Linked DNA regions of Homo sapiens: regions 1 and 3 are each linked to region 2. The links are contacts of gene promoters, found by promoter capture Hi-C in blood cells and fetal thymus (Javierre and others, 2016). All regions are on one chromosome and are shown on one strand. The core of a region is centred on a gene start or on the middle of the fragment in contact, and the rest is flanking DNA. Distances in the headings are between cores, read along the strand shown. Region 1 holds the start of ZFYVE16 (zinc finger FYVE-type containing 16). Region 2 holds the start of CMYA5 (cardiomyopathy associated 5). Region 3 holds the start of SPZ1 (spermatogenic leucine zipper 1).

Region 1 (3,501 bases), core at 593-3,092, 720 kb after region 2:
CCTAACACATAGTAGGAAAAAGGCATACTGTAGTTTGTAGAATTATTCTTAGGATTAAATGAGATAACGTAAGCAAAGCATCTAACACACTGTCACAAAGCAGATGCTCAATACACACATTACTTTAGGCAATCAAAAGTTTGGCTATTTCATTTTGTTGTTTAGGAAAACCAAGGTTAAAGATTAAGTATCTTTCAAAGATCAGGAACTATAGTTGTAAACTGCAGATTTAAGATGCGAACCCTGATTCTCAAATCTTTCATCACAAATCACATGTGGCTGGAATACTCGAAAAATTATAATTCTTGCAATTTTTTTTTTTTCTTTTTTGAGACGGAGCCTTGCTCTGTCACCCAGGCTGGAGTGTGGTGGCTCGATCTTGGCTCACTGTGACCTCTGCCTCCTGGGTTCATTCAATGGTCCTGATTGTCCTGCCTCAGCCTCCCAAGTAGCTGGGATTACAGGCGCCCGCCACCACACCCAGCTAATTTTTGTATTTTTAGTAGAGACGGAGTTTCACCATGTTGGCCAGATTGGTCTCGAACTCCTGACTTCAGGTGATCCGCCTGCCTCGGCCTCCCAAAGTGCTGGGGTTACAGGCGTGAGCCACTGCGCCCGGCCAATTCTTGCGATTTTTGAAAGATCAGTATGAACTGTGAGCTGTTTAACCTTTGAGGAACTGCTTTTTCCCTGTATCTGTCTGTATCTGATCCCACATGTATGTCTCTTCCCTTGTTTTTATTTTTTATTTTTTTAGAGACACGGTCTGGTTCTGTTGCTCAGGCTGGAATGCAGTGTTGCCATCAGAGCTCACTGCAGCCTTGACCTCCTGGGCTTAAGTGATCCTCCCACTTCAGACTCCCAGCCAGTAGCTGGGACTACAGGCACGCGCCAACACGCCTGGCTAATTTTTTCATTTTCATTTTTAGTAGAGACAGGGTCTTGCTATGTTGCCCAGGCCTGTCTGGAACTCTTGACTTCAAGCGATCCTCCCGCCTCGGCCTCCCAAAGTGCTGGGATGACAGGCGTGAGCCACCGCGCCGGGTCTCATTTAAATTTATAGGAAACTTGTGGTAAAAATAGCAAAACTCAACAAGCAAATATACATCAAGTGAGTGACATTTTATTTCTACATCAGATAAGTCAGCTTTTGCTTTTAGACAGGGAGACAGCTGTTCTACCAGCTGCTTTAAAATAAAAATGCAGAACTAACGCAGCGAAGGGAAGGAAAGTGTGGCTGGGAATGTCCAGTCAGCTGGAGGGGCTTGGAGCTCGGCGTTGGCTGGGAGCATTTTTATTGCTGCCGGGAGGAGGAAGGGGAAGCGGGGGAAGCGGGGGAGGCGGGGGGGCAGCGTGTTGTAAAATCAGTTTGAAGTAAACAAAAAGTTATGTTTTCCGAGGGGCCAGCAGCGCGGAGAGCAGGCCTAGCCCGCTGCCGGGAAGGCGGGTCTGTCCAGTAGAGACCGGAACGCCGCGCAGGCTCAGCAAAGGGCTAAGGCTGGAGCCGGGGAAGCTGCCTCTAGGTTAGCGAAGGGTAAAGGAAGTCAGACACTGACGCGAGTGGCCTCCCGATCCCGCAGTCGAGTGGAGAACCGAGTCCCGACCTAAGGTCGAATCATCAGGCGTCCCCGTCACCCAACAACCCACTCAGGCACTTCCGGTAAGAAATCTAGTGCCCTTGGCTCGGAACCTGCGTCGTAGTGCGCAAGCGCCCCGGGCCTGGAGACGGCCGCGGATGCCGAGGGAGGGGGCGTGTGAGCCGAAGAGGAAAGCGTCCTCTGCGCCTGCGCTCTCTGCGCTGCCCGGTGGGGCGGGGAAAGAAGCCCTGAGCCGGGATCTGGCACTCCCAGGACTCCCGGCCGGGGTAGCTCTTCACTCCTCAGCGCGACGTCGTGTCGAGTTCCCAAAAAGCTCCGCAGGGGCTGTAGGGAGGTAAGAGCCCCCCGTGACCGGTCGTCTCGGCCTCCCCTCAGCCCTGCTGTTCCCACAGGGGGGCGGGGTGACCGCTGGACCCGCCGACCTGGGCGCTGGGTCTGGCCCTCTTCCTCTGGGGACAGAGCCTGGGCCCCGACCGATTCCTTTTCCGAGCCCCCGGAGCTGGCCGGGGAACCCTGGCCCTCCAATCTGATGTCCCCTCCTGGAGCCTGAAGGGCCAGACCGGACTGGACCGGGAGGGCAATCACGGCGGCTGTTTGCCCGGTTCCCCGCTCCCGGGCCGCCGGAGTGTTCGGCGCTCCTGGGGGAGAGACCCCAGCGGACGGAGGGAGAAGCGCCCTGGCGCCGCCGTCCCGCCTGGGGAGGGGCTGCGACTGCGGAGGGGACTGTGGTTCTTCAGGAGTGGCAGAGGCTCGGTCCCCGCAGAGGAGTCTCATCGCCGCCGGTGCTCTCGCACTGTCCATTCCCGCACCCATGCATTTTCTCTTGGTTAGAGACCAGAAGGATGCAGTGGCCGTCTTTCCCGCTGCCTTTCCTTTGGTACTTTTGAGAACTCCAAAAGAGGACCTTATTTTTAACTCTTATTTGTACTATCGTGATTGCAAATATTATGTTCCAGACTAAGGATGTTCTTTCTTATTAGTTTGACTTGTATGAAAACCAGTCCATACATTTGATATTAAGTTAATCTTTTCAATTCAAAAAATAGGCACTTTGTTGATTCAATCAGATTCCTCCATTTATTCACTTGAGCTTGTCGTCTCTTGAGTTGGCGGGAGTTTAATGGTTTAATCCAGTAGAACTATATATAATTTTTCGCCTAATTTCTTCCTTTTTTTCCTCTCCTGGATATTAAACCGCATGCTTAGTGGCAAAAATTGAAAAAATAGAATAAAGAATAAGGAAAAATGATCAATCATAATTCCACCATGTAATAGTAATCAATTACTTATAATATTTTGACTTTTTTCCTTTGAGTCTTTTTTTCCCCTGTGCATTTTCTTGAGATGAGATTTTATATCGTTGGATTGTCTGCTTTCCTTGATTTAAATTACGTTGTAAGCATTTCCCCATGTTTTTAAAAAGCTTCATAAAAATGACTTCTTGATTATACATGAGCAAAGTATCTTTTGAAACAGTTATATTACAGATAAAGCCAAATCCGCATTAATTATCCTCAATCATAATGTTACATGATAGAATAGTGCTACAGTTCATTTAACATTATGATTGGGGATAATTACGCTTAAAAATTATTGAGGACCAATAGAGTTTTTGGTTCCTAATGCTGCAGTATATTTACCATTTTGGAAATTAAAACTCAGAAAATTGAAAATGTTTTATTCATTTAAAAATCACAGACTCATGTATTAAATAATTTTTTAGTGAAAAGTAACCATTTTCTAAAACAAAACTTAGAAGAGGAGCGTGGCATTGTTTCAAATTTTTGCGAATCACTTTAATGTCTGGCATTATAGAAGACAGCTGGATTTTCATGTTTGCTTCTGTTCAGTCTGTTGTGCTATCTGGTTTAGGTTGAAGCATATGAAGAAAACACCAGCCTTG
Region 2 (3,373 bases), core at 44-2,543:
ATGGGTATCCTGGTAAAAATGGGACCAACCTTTGAGGCAGAAGGAATTGTGTTAATAAAGACACAGTGGAGTGACTTGACAATGTTGGGAACTCCTGACTTCTAAAGACACCTGACCAGCTGGGCGTGGGGGCTCACACCTGTAATTCCAGAACTTTGGGAGGCTGAGGTGGGCAGATCACCTGAGGTCAGGAGTTCGAGACTAGGCTAGCCAATATGGTGAAACCCCGTCTCTACTAAAAATACAAAAATTAGCTGGGCATGGTGGTGCGCGCCTGTAGTCCCAGCTACTCGGGAGGCTGAGGCAGGAGAATCGCGTGAACCCAGGAGGTGGAAGTTGCACTGGACCGAGATCGCGCCATTGCACTCCAGTCTGGGCGACAAGAGCAAGACTCCATCTCAAAAAAAAAAAAAGAGTAGACAGGTAAAACATGGCCTGTTAGGCAACCGTTACCTTTGTGAGGGTGTTGGGGTTCAGTCTTTGAGCAGTGGGAAGCCATTGAGGGGTTTTAACCACAACTTGATCCGGGGAAAGGTTTGGGGCATTTGGGCCAGTTTCAGACAAAACTTAGCTTTTTGCTAACGTGGGGGAAATTGCTCCTCCTCAAGGTTTAAGATGAGTGGAGATAAAGTTTCCTGGCTCAATAACAGGGACCACTGAGCAAGAAAATACACAGTATATTGACTTGCGATATAAAGAGAGCCGGGACGGAACACTGGTTCAAAACTGGGCTTTTGAGCAGGGCACGCCTAGCTTTGTTTCTCATTGGGTCATTTTACTAGCAATGACAGCCTGAGCTGCTGGAGCTCTTCGGAGTCTCAGTTTCCTCATCTGGGAAACCAGCACTACAGTAAAACCTTCTACAGGTACCACCACAGAATCGAGGTAATGAAAGCGAGACCCTTAGCAGAGTGCCTGGTAGTTAAGTGCCCAGCTCAGGGTATTGTTTGGGATAAAGGGTCCAGAAAGTAGCTCAGCTCAAAACCGAAAAGACTCACTCTGGAGGAAATAAGAGACGGGGCTAGGTTGCCTTTCCTCCTTTGAACCCCCTGGTGCAGCCGGAGCCCGCGCCCCTTAAAGTGATCTCCAGTTGTCCGAAAGGCCCGCCAGGGATCTGGCGAAACGGGGGCGGGGGAGGGCTCAGGGAAGAGGAGAAGCTGAGCCCGGGCCCCAGAAGCTCGGTGGCGAAACTTTGACGCCTTCTATTTAAAGTCGCGGGGCTCGCCCGCCCCCGGCGCCGGGAACCCGAGCCGCCCCCGCAGGGGCAGGGCTGGGGAGGGCAGGGGCCAGAGCAGTCGGAGGGAGAACACCAGGCGCGGCGCGGGCGGCTCCGGCTCCGGCCCCGGCCCAGGCCCGGGAGAGGCGATGGCGAGCCGCGATAGCAACCACGCTGGCGAGAGCTTTCTCGGCTCCGACGGGGACGAGGAGGCGACCCGGGAGCTGGAGACCGAGGAGGAGTCGGAGGGCGAGGAGGACGAGACGGCGGCGGAGTCGGAGGAGGAGCCGGACTCCAGGTAGCGCGAGCCTCTCTCCTCGGCCCAGGGCCTGCAGGGCAGCTAGCAGCACCCTTGCTTGTTTGCTTTAAGTTTTTAAGCTCTGGGGTTCGTTTGCCTCGAGCTAGGCACTTTCTCTCTGGGTGCACTGTCGTTTAAAAGAACTTGAAGGTGAAGGTGCTCGCTGTCAGCTGGAGTGACAGGCCCGCCTGCAGCAGAGTTCATTACCCCCGCCCCCAGCTCCTTGTGACTCGCTGCTCTTGTTTATTCCTGAGGATTTACTTAGGTCCTGCATAACTGCCGAAATGTGCTGGAACACGTACATCTGGCCCGAGGCACAGGAACAATCGCGAAATCCTGCGCTAGAGGAGAAGGGGGTGGGGTGGAGGCGGTGAAGGCGCACTGGTACCTTCCGATGAATGGCGGTCTCCCCGGGGGCCTAGCAGTAGGCTAGGCTGCAATAAGGTGACCTTATTTTGATACAAAGGCCCATAAATTCTTTGGGGGAAAAGAAGCATGAGTTTCAGTAATCCCTGTTCTTCAAGTCCTGGTCCCAAATCCCAAATATCAGTTTCCGTGAATGCGATGAAGTAATACTATGTACAAAAGATGCACCTCCCACCCTTCGATCTCCCACCCTCCGTCCCTTTAAGAAGGCCCTAAAATGAGAATAATAGAAATCATCTAATGTCTATTTGGATTAGCTTCTACCTTCACTTGTTTTCCTTGAGTATGAGTTTTGGGTTTTTTCCTGACTGTGTGTCAGTCAGTGATGTCTCTTCCTCAGTCTGTTCATAACAGTAGAAAGGCTTTGAAGGTGGCAGGTGGGTGTGTACCATCTCAGAACGCCCAGCTTACCTAATCAAAGCCAGCAGAGCCGATGTTGAAGAAGTAGCCCATAGAGGGGCATTGAGGAGGATGGATGGTCAGACAAGAAGTCCTGAATGTATGTCACCTGTTTATCAAACAGCTGCCAAGTGGGAAGCAAGCACAGTCCCTGGCCTCAAGGACCTTGTGGAAAAAGTTTCCCTAACTTTTTCCCCTATGGGGAAACGTTTCCCTAACATGGGGAGTGTGAGACTATATAGAGGTGGAAGGGAGGACTATGGGTACTGTGCAAGGGCAGAAGAGGGAGTGTTGGGCTGGAGCTGCCTTGAAGTAGTGGGCAGGGACTACAAACAGGAAGAGCAGAGGAGAAGGCACCTGTAGGAAGTGGATCAGGGAGTAGGGGACCTGTGATCCCTTGGCAGTGTTGAGAAGGGGAAGTCTGTCAACTCAGCTTTTATAACCTTTCCCTTACTGTTGTCTGGGATCCTCATATCCTTGCCCAACCACAATTTACAACCAAGAGAATCTGAAAACTCATTTACACTAAAATGTGAGCAGCTGACCATTCACTCTGGGGTTGCATTGCCATTTGACAAAGGTCAAGGCCTTCAGAAAAGGATGTGATTTGTCTGCAGTAAACTTCAGCCTGTTCTGACTACAGACAGTAAGGTGGACACCAGGGAAAGAGGTCAGAATAAATAGAGTGGAGGGACACATGAGGGAATATGGAAAATGGAGGCCTGGAAAAAGCATCCAATTTATTTTTTATTGGATGACAAGGGTAACAGGAAGTCAGCAAAACTTCTGGATTTAGGAAAAACACGTATCGACGAAAAAGCATCAAACTCTGTAAAATATCTGAAGAGATTGGTTCTGAGCCAAATATGAGTGACCAATGGCCTGTGACACGGCCTGCAGGAGATCCTGAGAACATGTGGCCAAGGTGGTTGGGGGACAGCTTAATTTTACACATTTTAGGGAGACATGAGACCTCAATCAAATACATGTAAGATGCACATTGGTTTGGTCCAGAAAGGTGGGAAAACTGAAGG
Region 3 (3,320 bases), core at 714-3,213, 630 kb after region 2:
ATACATGAACACTGATAATCTATTAGGCCAGAAAGAAAATATCAATTTCAAAAGGTAGAAACATTACAGACATTTTCTGAATATAGTATGATAAAGCTAGAAATTAATTATCAAAAATTCCCCTGTGCTGGAGATTAAGAAATTGTCTTAAATGATGCTTGAGTCAAAGGGGGAAATAAGAACCAATGCTGAACTTCTAAGATGGAATTAAAGCATAAGGACAGTTGCTAGCATCTATGCTGTCATTGTGTGAATTAGAAAAGGAGTTCCTTTTTCAAGTAAAAGCAGAGACCAACCCTGCTGTATCTGTGAGTAGTCAGTGACGATGGCCTGGAGCCCAGCTGGCTGAAAGATGAGCATGAGGCTCTGGGGAATTAGAGCCAAAATGAGTTGGTAACTGGAGAAGAAAGAAAACATATAAATTTCTCTTCTCTAGGGGAAAAAAAACCTGAGTATGAGTTTTCCCTTAAGACTGGAAGCAAATTTCTATTAAAGTGCTTGCTAGCAAGATTTTGAAGGCCAGGAAAAAGTCATACACAAGAAATGTTTCTTTGATTGAGTTCTATATTCACAAGACCTGACTCCTAAGAACAAAAAGACAAGAAAGCAGCTTATTAAAATGCAAGAAGTTTAATAAACTTGTTACTTTCTATAACCCACTAGAGAATTTACCTGTTTCAAATGCTTTTTATTTTTTAATTTTTAATTTCTTTTTTTGAGGCAGTGTCTTGTTCTGTCACCCAGGCTGGAGTGCACTGGCACGATCTCAGCTCACTGCAACCTCCTCCTCCTGGGTTCAAGCAAGTCTCATGCCTCAGCCTTCTGAGTAGCTGGGATTACAGGTGTGTGCTGCCATGCCCAGCTAATTTTTGCATTTTTAGTAGAGATGGGGTTTTGTCATGTTGCCCAGGCTGATCCTGAACTCCTGGCCTCAAGTGATCTGCCCGCCTTAGCCTCCCAAAGTGCTGGGATTACAGGCATGAGCCACTGCACCTGGCCAATTTTTTAATTTTTTGTGATAGATCTTGCTGTGTTGCCCAAACTGGAGTGCACTAAGTAGCACAGTCATGGCTCACTGCAGCCTCAACCTCCCAGGCTCAAGTGATCCTCTCGCCTCAGCCTCCCAAGTAGCTGGGACCACAGGCACACACTACCATGCCCTTCTAATCAAACACTTTAGAAATATAACTATGTCATTTTAACAAGTTACTGTGTAGAGTGTGGAAATCTTAGGGGATCAATAAAAGAGCCAAAAAAAAAATCCCCAAATAAGTTACTGTGAAAAGTAATAGTCAAAGTTTTCTATCACCTGATGTAAATGATTTGTGAGTAAGCTTGCCAAGCCTGTCTTAAAGGATGCCTATATTCAAAGCCAAGAAAAGTCCCAGTTTGTAATTGTGTTGCTATTATAACCATTCAGATAGTCCCTTCTTGGAGCAGTAGAATATTTTTGAATGGAGGGACTCCTGACATTACTTTCCTAAAATCACAAAAGGCTGTCACTCTCAGGGTTTTGTTTTGTGTGGATAACTTTCTCTTACAGTCACATCTCTCCTAGAATGGGAGCAATAGAGCCTCTAGGTGCTATGAAAGGATGGGGACCTCACCAGAGAGGACTGGTCTCAGCAATGTCCTTAAGTGGTCAAAACATGCTGCGGTTGAGGTCAGGATTGTGAGGGGATAGAGGTGACGTAGAGAAGTAACTGAGTGCATTTAGACTGAGATGAATAGCAACCTAGAAATTAAGGAGGGGAAGAGCTATTGTAGAGCTCTTTCTGGCATGAGGAGTAGGGATAGCTCAAGGTTGGTTTTGATGCAGGAGTCACTGGGCAGGAATTTAAGAGGCTTCCATTGTGACACAAAGGAGACAGACACTATGGATAGGCCACAATGGTGCAGTGACAAAATAAAGACCTGGTTGCTAGGGCCAGAGAATAAACACCGGGTGCCTAGAGGAGAAGAGATGGAGCCCCAGCCTTGGTCCCCTTTCCCACCCTTCCTCCCCACAAGGCTGTCTGAGATGCCACCTTCCACCTAAACATCATCTCCCAAATTTTAATCCTTAACTTTGGTCTCTGACTTCTGCTTGATTCCACAGTCTCCACCCACATTTGCACAAAGGACCATCACCTGTCCTTCCTGGAATCTCTAAAGTTTTCTGCTTTCCTTCTGTCCTGATGGCCAGCTCTGCTAAGTCAGCTGAGATGCCCACCATCTCCAAAACCGTTAACCCTACTCCTGATCCTCATCAAGAATATCTGGACCCTAGGATTACCATTGCCTTATTCGAAATTGGATCACATTCCCCTTCCTCCTGGGGCTCTCTCCCTTTCCTAAAGAATAGCAGCCATCAAGTTACAGAACAACAGACTGCACAGAAGTTTAACAATCTCTTAAAAGAAATTAAAGATATTCTTAAAAATATGGCAGGTTTTGAAGAGAAGATCACAGAAGCAAAAGAACTTTTTGAGGAAACCAATATTACTGAGGATGTGTCAGCCCACAAAGAAAATATCAGAGGACTTGACAAAATCAATGAAATGTTATCAACAAACCTGCCTGTTAGTTTAGCCCCAGAGAAAGAAGACAATGAAAAGAAACAGGAGATGATATTGGAAACCAATATTACTGAGGATGTGTCAGCCCACAAAGAAAATATCAGAGGACTTGACAAAATCAATGAAATGTTATCAACAAACCTGCCTGTTAGTTTAGCCCCAGAGAAAGAAGACAATGAAAAGAAACAGCAGATGATAATGGAAAACCAGAACTCTGAGAACACCGCACAAGTTTTTGCAAGAGATTTGGTAAATCGTTTAGAAGAAAAAAAAGTCCTTAACGAAACTCAACAAAGTCAGGAAAAAGCAAAAAACAGACTTAATGTTCAAGAAGAAACTATGAAAATTAGGAACAACATGGAGCAGTTACTACAGGAAGCAGAACACTGGAGTAAACAACATACTGAGCTCAGTAAACTGATAAAATCCTATCAGAAATCTCAGAAAGACATAAGTGAAACTCTTGGAAATAATGGAGTCGGTTTCCAAACCCAGCCAAATAATGAAGTGTCGGCTAAGCATGAGCTGGAGGAACAGGTGAAGAAACTGAGCCATGACACCTATTCATTGCAGTTGATGGCAGCTTTGCTAGAGAATGAATGCCAAATCTTACAGCAGAGAGTAGAGATTCTCAAGGAACTCCATCATCAGAAACAGGGAACTCTGCAAGAGAAGCCAATTCAGATAAACTATAAACAGGACAAGAAAAATCAGAAGCCATCAGAAGCAAAGAAAGTAGAAATGTATAAGCAGAACAAGCAA

What was found. The method cuts DNA at HindIII sites, captures the fragments that hold promoters and counts their contacts. A CHiCAGO score of 5 or more calls a contact.
Region 1: a contact is called between the fragment with the promoter of ZFYVE16 here and the fragment with the promoter of CMYA5 in region 2, in 1 of 17 cell types (monocytes). The highest score is 6.0, in monocytes.
Region 3: the fragment with the promoter of SPZ1 here is called in contact with the fragment with the promoter of CMYA5 in region 2 in 6 of 17 cell types (M1 macrophages, total CD8 T cells, naive CD4 T cells and 3 more); the score reaches 7.3 in M1 macrophages.

What each region holds. Positions count from the first base shown.
Region 1 is chr5:80,406,222-80,409,722 of GRCh38, forward strand. It overlaps ZFYVE16 (zinc finger FYVE-type containing 16), which reads left to right and starts at 1,843. Exons shown (of 19, transcript NM_001284236.3): 1 at 1,843-1,932. RefSeq lists an enhancer at 1,805-2,603 and a silencer at 2,324-2,443. The HindIII fragment of the contact is 4,043 bases long and covers 1-3,019 here.
Region 2 is chr5:79,688,543-79,691,915 of GRCh38, forward strand. CMYA5 (cardiomyopathy associated 5) reads left to right here and starts at 1,294. Exons shown (of 13, transcript NM_153610.5): 1 at 1,294-1,514. The coding sequence starts at 1,366. RefSeq lists an enhancer at 804-1,305. The HindIII fragment of the contact is 6,464 bases long and covers 1-3,373 here.
Region 3 is chr5:80,318,039-80,321,358 of GRCh38, forward strand. It overlaps SPZ1 (spermatogenic leucine zipper 1), which reads left to right and starts at 1,964. Exons shown (of 1, transcript NM_032567.4): 1 at 1,964-3,320. The coding sequence starts at 2,178. The HindIII fragment of the contact is 2,056 bases long and covers 1,333-3,320 here.